2 separate regions of the Homo sapiens genome follow, and region 1 is linked to region 2. Evidence: promoter capture Hi-C in 16 types of primary human blood cells and fetal thymus (Javierre and others, 2016). All regions are on one chromosome and are shown on one strand. The core of a region is centred on a gene start or on the middle of the fragment in contact, and the rest is flanking DNA. Distances in the headings are between cores, read along the strand shown. Region 1 holds the start of NLRP11 (NLR family pyrin domain containing 11). Region 2 holds the start of NLRP8 (NLR family pyrin domain containing 8).

Evidence for each region. Contacts are between HindIII fragments. The CHiCAGO score rates a contact against its expected background, and 5 or more counts as called.
Region 1: a contact is called between the fragment with the promoter of NLRP11 here and the fragment with the promoter of NLRP8 in region 2, in 1 of 17 cell types (erythroblasts). The highest score is 5.4, in erythroblasts.

The regions. Positions count from the first base shown.
Region 1 is chr19:55,829,638-55,833,439 of GRCh38, forward strand. NLRP11 (NLR family pyrin domain containing 11) reads right to left here and starts at 2,362. Exons shown (of 10, transcript NM_001394894.2): 1 at 2,326-2,362. The HindIII fragment of the contact is 8,930 bases long and covers 928-3,802 here.
Region 2 is chr19:55,946,438-55,950,242 of GRCh38, forward strand. It overlaps NLRP8 (NLR family pyrin domain containing 8), which reads left to right and starts at 1,395. Exons shown (of 10, transcript NM_001433706.1): 1 at 1,395-1,832. The coding sequence starts at 1,466. The HindIII fragment of the contact is 8,931 bases long and covers 1-3,805 here.

The sequences.
Region 1 (3,802 bases), core at 1,112-3,611, 120 kb before region 2:
GCCTGGGCGAGACTCCGTCTCAAAAAAAAAAAAAAAAAAAAAAAAAAATCGTACTTTAAAGAACACAAGAAAAAGCTCATAAAACAGCGTTTACAGAAGTATGAACTGTTTGAGTCTAAAGGTAACTCCACTTTCTTAAACATATTAGAGGGAAATACAGTTGACTCCTGAACTCAAAAGTCAATGCTGCCAGCCCCTAGGCAGTCAAAAACCCACGTATAACTTTTGACTTCCAACACTCATAGCCTACTATTGACCAGAAGCCTTATCAACAGTCAATTAACACATAAGTAGACTCACATCTATATTGATTGCATTCATGACATATCTGACTTTAATTTTTTAAGTATTTCTAGGCTGCCTGGTTCATCTACAAGTTGTCATACATCTCCCCCAAAATTCTCCAATATATTTATTTTTGAAACTTCATGTATAAGTGGACACATGCAGCTCAAACCTGTATTGTTCAAGGGTCCACTGTAAATCTGTTTAACACAAGTGTTTTCTTCTTTTAAATCTTGTATCTAGGTGTTTTTCCCCCCTAAGTGAACACAAGTAGATTAGGGATTAGTAAGTTAAGCCTCACCAAGTCCAACCCTTCCCCAAATTCCCAAACTCTTCCCTCCTTTGACTTCTATTTCACCATTGCCTTTGAGCCCCATCCTTGTAACTGAGAGACTTCCGAGTTCAGGAGTCAACTGTATTTCTTTCTAGTGATATGTTTGTCTAATAAAGTAGTTACCTTTAGACTCAAACAGTCCATATTTCCCTAAACACTGTTGTATGAGCTTTGCTTGTGTTCTTTAAGGTATGATTTTTAAGTGGTTTGGTAATAATGCACCAGAAATATTTAATCATGACCCTCTCAGTCTTTAGGTGTTTCTGATTTCATACTGTGACATAGGATCATTCAAGGAAAATTCCATAAGCTTTTTGCCTAGTGATGGCTTCTTAGCTTCCTAAAAAAAAAAAAAAAAATGCAACGTTGAGTGTGTGTTAAAAGCTCTTATTACTTTTCCCAAAGGGCAAAATACTTTTTTTACACCAACCTTTTGTACACTCATCTGACCACACTGCAATGCTTTTTAAGTTGGTTGCTGGAATTTGCTGTTGACTGAACTATAAGGTGCCAACTGAACTATGAGGTGATCTCCAACACCTGCAAAAAAGCTGACACTACAGCATTGCACGTCCCAAGTCGGCGTTGCATCAGATTAGCTGATCACCGCACAGTTGGGCACTTCAAGCACCTGTGACCAGACTTTCTCAAGCACTGAGACACAGGGGAATCACCTGGGGAGTTATCAAAAACCCCAGTGTCCCGAAATACAGACACTGATTAGAGACTTTGGAGGTTGGGCCCAGGAACCAGTATATTGTTCCAATCCCCCCTGTAAATTCAGCACTCAAAGTTAAGAATCAATTTGTAAACTAAAAATAACATGTTAAGACCCACCGCCCCACCCCCCCCATCCCCCCCACCCCCCCGCCCACAACCAACTGAGCGGACCCCCTCCTGGCCAAGATACTTGAAAAACAGAATCATTGACTATGGCAGGAAGGGAGGTCAAACCTCCTCCTATCTCCTTCCTTTCGGAGCCTAGGCACAACTGACGGGCATTAACATTAAAATAGAGCTCAGGACCGGGTGCAGGAGCTCACGCCTGTAATCCCAGCACTTTGGGAGGTCAAGGTGGGCACATTACTTGAGGTCAGGAGTTCGAGACCAGCCTAGACAACATGGCGAAACCCCATCTCTACTAAAAATACAAAAATTAGCTACGTATGCTGGCGTGTGCCTGTCATTCCTGCTACTTGGGAGTCTGAGGTGGGAGAGTCACTTGAACCCAGGAGACAGAGGTTGCAGTGCGCTGAGATCACACCACTGCACGCCAGCCTTGGCGACAGAGCGAGACTCCGTCTCAAAATAAATAAATAAATAAAAATATTCTTTTCATCTCTAACACTTTATACATCACATAGAAGAATAGCATCCATAAGGCTATGATGACGAGTTAGTTAGGTTTAAACACTCCACCCACAGTGCACATACACTTCAAAACATCATGCTGCACACACTACATGCAATTTTATCTGTCAACTTAAATAAGTTTATCAAAAAAAAAAAAAGCATGACCCAAATTTACTCATGTGAACTTGAAAAAGGTAACAGAGCTTGGCCTGCCCTTAGGAACTTTAGTCATTTTATTCCCCAATCATATTATTTCCAGCTCCTAACCAAAGAGAAAGCTAAAGAACCAATGTAACATAATAAAAAAAGACCTTAAAATCCAAACAAACAAATCGGCCAGAAAGGTAACTCACCAACCCTGCCACCAGGTCTCCTTGGCTGGTCGAAAGCAAACAAGCTAGGCAGCGGGAAGAAAAAGGCGGTGCCTGCCCGGTGATTAGCCAGCTGACTCCTCTCTTGATTGGCCAAGGTGGGTTCTTGATGACCTTCGCGATGGAGGGGAAATACTGCTGCACCTGCGTGTTTCTGCCCAGATGCCCCAATTGTCTTTCTTCACCCAGGACTAAACAGGGTCTGCTGATTAGGAGACGGTCCACACCCCGTTTATGATGTTGGAGCTCATGGGGCATCTGACCAAGAACCTCCAAAACAATTGACTTAGGCAGTGCCGGGGGAAAGAAGTTTTCCACCAATAATCTCAATTTCGGATAACCATCTATACAGTAAGCTCCATGAGGGGAATACGCTGTCTAGTCTACATAACCACCTGGCAAGGATCCTTTCAAATCTGAGGGAGGCCATAAATATTTGTGGAACAAATGCAACCAAAGGCATGTTTAACAGGTGATAGAATTTGCGGAGGCACGTCCTAGATCCTCCACCCGGGGGGCCCGTCTTGGCTGCCTATTGGAATCACCTGGAGACCTCTAGTGAAGACTGATAGCTCAGTCCTATGCGCAGGTATCTGCTTTAGTCAGGAGGGAGTATGCTCTGGGTATGACTGATAGAGCTCCTCATATTGAACAGATTACAGAAGAATAGGGGCATCTTCATAGGTGCAAAAGGGGAAATATAAAAGAGTCTATATCTATTCATGGTTTTAGATGTATCTTTGTAAGTTAGGAAATAAAAGAATTTCCTTCACCCAGTAAAGGGTTCCAAAAAAGCAAGAGCAAACAAAAATCTCATAATGGACGGGAAAGTGATGAAAGAATACCTTTTACAATAAGATACAAGATAAACAAGGCCTCCGTCACCACTCTTATTTCAACATAGTGCACCTGTTCACTGGGACAAGAAAACGGATCTGAAAGAAAGAGGCGAAATTATCATATTGGAGATAATTTGAATATCCATGCAAACTCTCTCCCCTTAAATCTATTGATAAATTGTTAGGATTCAAAGCAGCTTTGGTGAATATAAATCAACATACAAATCTGATTGTGTTTCTCTAAAAAAAAACTAATTGGAATTTAAAATTTTAAAGGATGCCACATGCAGTTCCAAGAAAAATATAAACTAGAAATAATTCTTATAAGAGATTGTAAATCTTATTGAATGATATACAATGTTATTGCCATATACAAAATCCTTAAAAATGAAGGATAACATTACATTCTTGTACAGGAATTATTATTATGAAGATGTTAATATGCTCCCAAATAGACCTTTATATTCAGTAAAACAATAAAATCCCAATAGAAATTTTCATATCAAAATATAATTCTGAAATGTATGTGGAAAATAGAAGGGACTAGTACAAGCCAAGAGACGCCTGAAGCACATAGGTGGGTGGGAGGTGGGAATGATGATTGAGTTGGACCTACCCTA
Region 2 (3,805 bases), core at 145-2,644:
TGGGAAACAGAGTGAGACTCTGTCTCTAAGTAAATAAATAAATAATAAATAAATAAACTATTATTGGAAGTTGGGGCAGGGGGGACAAAAATACACCCATGATCCTTTTTATTTTATTTCTTTTTTACATTTCTTTTAGATACAGGGGTACATGTGCAGGTTTGTTATATAGGCAAACGTGTTATGGGGGTGGGTTTGTTGTACAGGTTATCTCATCACCCAGGTATTAATCCCAGTACCCATTAGTTATTTTTCCTGATCTTCTCCCTCCTCCCACCCTCCAGCCTCTAGCAGACTCCAGTGTGTGGTGTTCCCTCTATGTGTCCATGTGTTCTCATCGTTTAGCTACCACTTATAAATGAGCACATGTGGTATTTGGTTTCCTGTTCCTGTGTTAGTTTGCTAAGGAATAATGGTCTCTGGCTCCATCTATGTTCCTGCAAAGGTCATGATCTCATTCTTTTTTATGGCTGCATAGTATTCCATGGTGTTTATGTACCACATTTTTTTATCCGGTCTATCACTGATGGGCATTTAGGTTGATTCCATGACTTTGCTATTGTGAGTAGTGCTGCAATGAACATACACAGGAATGTGTCTTTATAATAGAATGATTTATATTCCTTTGGATATATATCCAGTAATGGGATTGCTGAGTTGAATGGTAGTTCTCTTTTTAGGTCTTTGAGGAGTTGCCCCACTGTCATCCAGAGTAGTTGAACTAATTTACACTCCCACACACAGAGTATAAGTGTTCCTTTTTCTCTGCGACTTCACCAGCATCTGTTATTGCTTGACTTTTTAATAATCACCATTCTGACTGGTGTGAGATGACATCTCGTTGTGGTTTTGATTTGCATCTCTCTAATACATGATCCATTTTTTAAGAATACAGCATCTGTTATTGCTTGACTTTTTAATAATCACCATTCTGACTGGTGTGAGATGACATCTCGTTGTGGTTTTGATTTGCATCTCTCTAATACATGATCCATTTTTTTAAGAATAAAAACTTTGTTGAATTTGAGATCACTTTTAATCTAATGGAGCCTTCTAACCAACCATATATTTTCTAGATTTTAGCTTCACTGAATTATTTTACCTGCTTCTAATTTTTCTTTTCGCTAAACCTTTTGTGAAGGCTTTGATATTTTGCTTGCCTCTTCCCCAAAAGAAGTCATGGAGAATAGAAACTACAAACAATCCATTAGTCTAATGGACTAATCCCAAACATTCCATGCATCTTCAGTTTTTCCATAGGGCAGAGAATCTTTGAGGAAAGGAGGTAAAGGGAGTACCCGGCACGCAGAATACCTGCCAAGTAAGCATTACACGAATCTGTTTTCTTGGGTAGTGTTTTCATCTTCTTGTTTTATTGTTTTATGTCTCTGCAGGTCTCGTGTTTCTCTCTTCCAATCGGTTGTCTTTATCGTGGACACTGAGGTGTTCTCTGCCTTGACTAAAGATGAGTGACGTGAATCCACCCTCTGACACCCCCATTCCCTTTTCATCCTCCTCCACTCACAGTTCTCATATTCCGCCCTGGACATTCTCTTGCTACCCCGGCTCCCCATGTGAAAATGGGGTCATGCTGTACATGAGAAACGTGAGCCATGAGGAGCTACAACGGTTCAAGCAGCTCTTACTGACTGAGCTCAGTACTGGCACCATGCCCATCACCTGGGACCAGGTCGAGACAGCCAGCTGGGCAGAGGTGGTTCATCTCTTGATAGAGCGTTTCCCTGGACGACGCGCTTGGGATGTGACTTCGAACATCTTTGCCATTATGAACTGTGATAAAATGTGTGTTGTAGTCCGCAGAGAGATAAATGGTGAGTGTTGATCTGGTGGATAAAGTGGGGGTGGGCTTGGCTGCTGGGCAGCTAAACTACTCTAGTCACCACCCCTATCACTTATTGGCCTTCTGAGCAAGAAAGCAAACAGTGGAGGAAGATAATGGATCTAACCCAAAGGCAAAGACTGTCATACGGGCATTTTTTTAATTTTATTTTTCTGAGATGGGGTTTCGCTCTTCTTGCCCAGGCTGAAGTGCAATGGCACAATCTCGGCTCACTGCAAACCCCGCCTCCCAGGTACAGGTGATTCTCCTGCCTCAGCCTCCTGAGTAGCTGGGATTACAGGCACCCACCACCATGCCTGGGTAATTTTTTTTTATTTTTAGTAGAGACGGGGTTTCACCATGTTGGCCAGGCTGGTCTCGAACTACTGACCTCAGGTAATCCGCCTGCCTTGGCCCCCCAAAGTGCTGGGATTGCAGGTGTGAGCCACTGTGCCCAGCCCATATGGGCCTATTTTTTAAAAACTTAACTGAATACTGCTTATATGAGGTGAACGTTAAATGAAGTCATAGAGAAGTAGGAAGTAAAATAGTGGAAAAGCATATGCTATGGAAACAGCAGAAGACAGCTGGTATAGCTATGGTGATGTCAGGAGTGCTATATTTAAAGCAAGAAGGTTAAACACTTTAAAAGGCCATTTCGCAGCAACAAAGGGTGAATCCCACTGGAGGATATTGTAATCCAAAACCTCATCTTCAATATGAATAAAGCAGAGCTGGACTACAGTCATCCCCTTATCCAAGGTTTTGCTTTCTGAAGTTTGGGTTGATCATGGCCAAAAATAGATGAGTACAGTACACTGAGATATTCTGAGACAGAGAGAGACCACATTTACATACCGTTTATGATAGTATAGTATTATAATTGTTCTATTTCATTATTATTGTTAATCTCTTACTGTACCTAATTTATAATTTAAACTTTTATCATAGATCGGTATGTATTTTTTTTCTATTTTGAGATGGAGTCTTCATTCTGTCACACAGGCTGGAGTGCAGTGGTGTGATCTCAGCTCACTGCAACCTCCACCTCCCAGGTTCAAGCAATTCTCATGCCTCAGCCTCCCCAGTAGCTGGGATTACAGGTGCGCACCACCACACCCAGCTAATTTTTGTATTTTTAGTAGAAACGGGGTTTCACCATGTTGGCCAGGCTGGTTTCAAACTCCTGACCTTAGGTGATTTGCCTGCCTCGGCCTCCCAAAGTGCTGGAATTACAGGTGTGAGCCACCACACCCGGCCTAGATATGTATTTAAAAAAATCAGTATCCACATTGTTCAGTACTATCCACAGTTTCAGATATCCACCGGGGATCTTGGAACATAGACCCTGCAGAGAAGGGGGGACTACTGTATTAAAGGAAAATACACCAATCCAGAAACATGATAGGAGCTGTGAACCCGCCTCTCCCAATAGCTGATATTACAAGTAGTCAGTCTCATTGGTAAGAATGGAGAAAACGTCAGCTCCACAGTTTTAAACATAAACACAGGAGAGTGGGTGCCTTACGTCTCCTTAGCCACTGGCACCCCAACAGCTGGCTCAGCACCTAGCATGTCATAGGTGCTCAAATATTAGATGGCTAGAGAGTAATTGATTGTGAAAAGGGACTTTCTTTTGATAAGGCAGCCTAGGAAGTCCTCTTTGAGGAAATGATGCTAAGGTTGAGACCTAACACAGGAGGAAATAGCTCATCATGTGAAAAGGAGAGAGAGTCACCGGAAAAGAAAATCAGAGGGGATGGAAACCCCGTGACCCAGTGGTAGAGAAAATCTTAGTGTTAAACAGAAAATGTTAATATTTATGAAAACCTGATGAAAAATACACAGAGAGGCCAGGCACGGTGGCTCACGCCTGTAATCCCAGCACTTTGGGAGGCAGAGGTGGGTGGATCACCCAAGGTCAGGAGTTCAAGACCAGCCCGGCCAACATGGTGAAACCCAGTC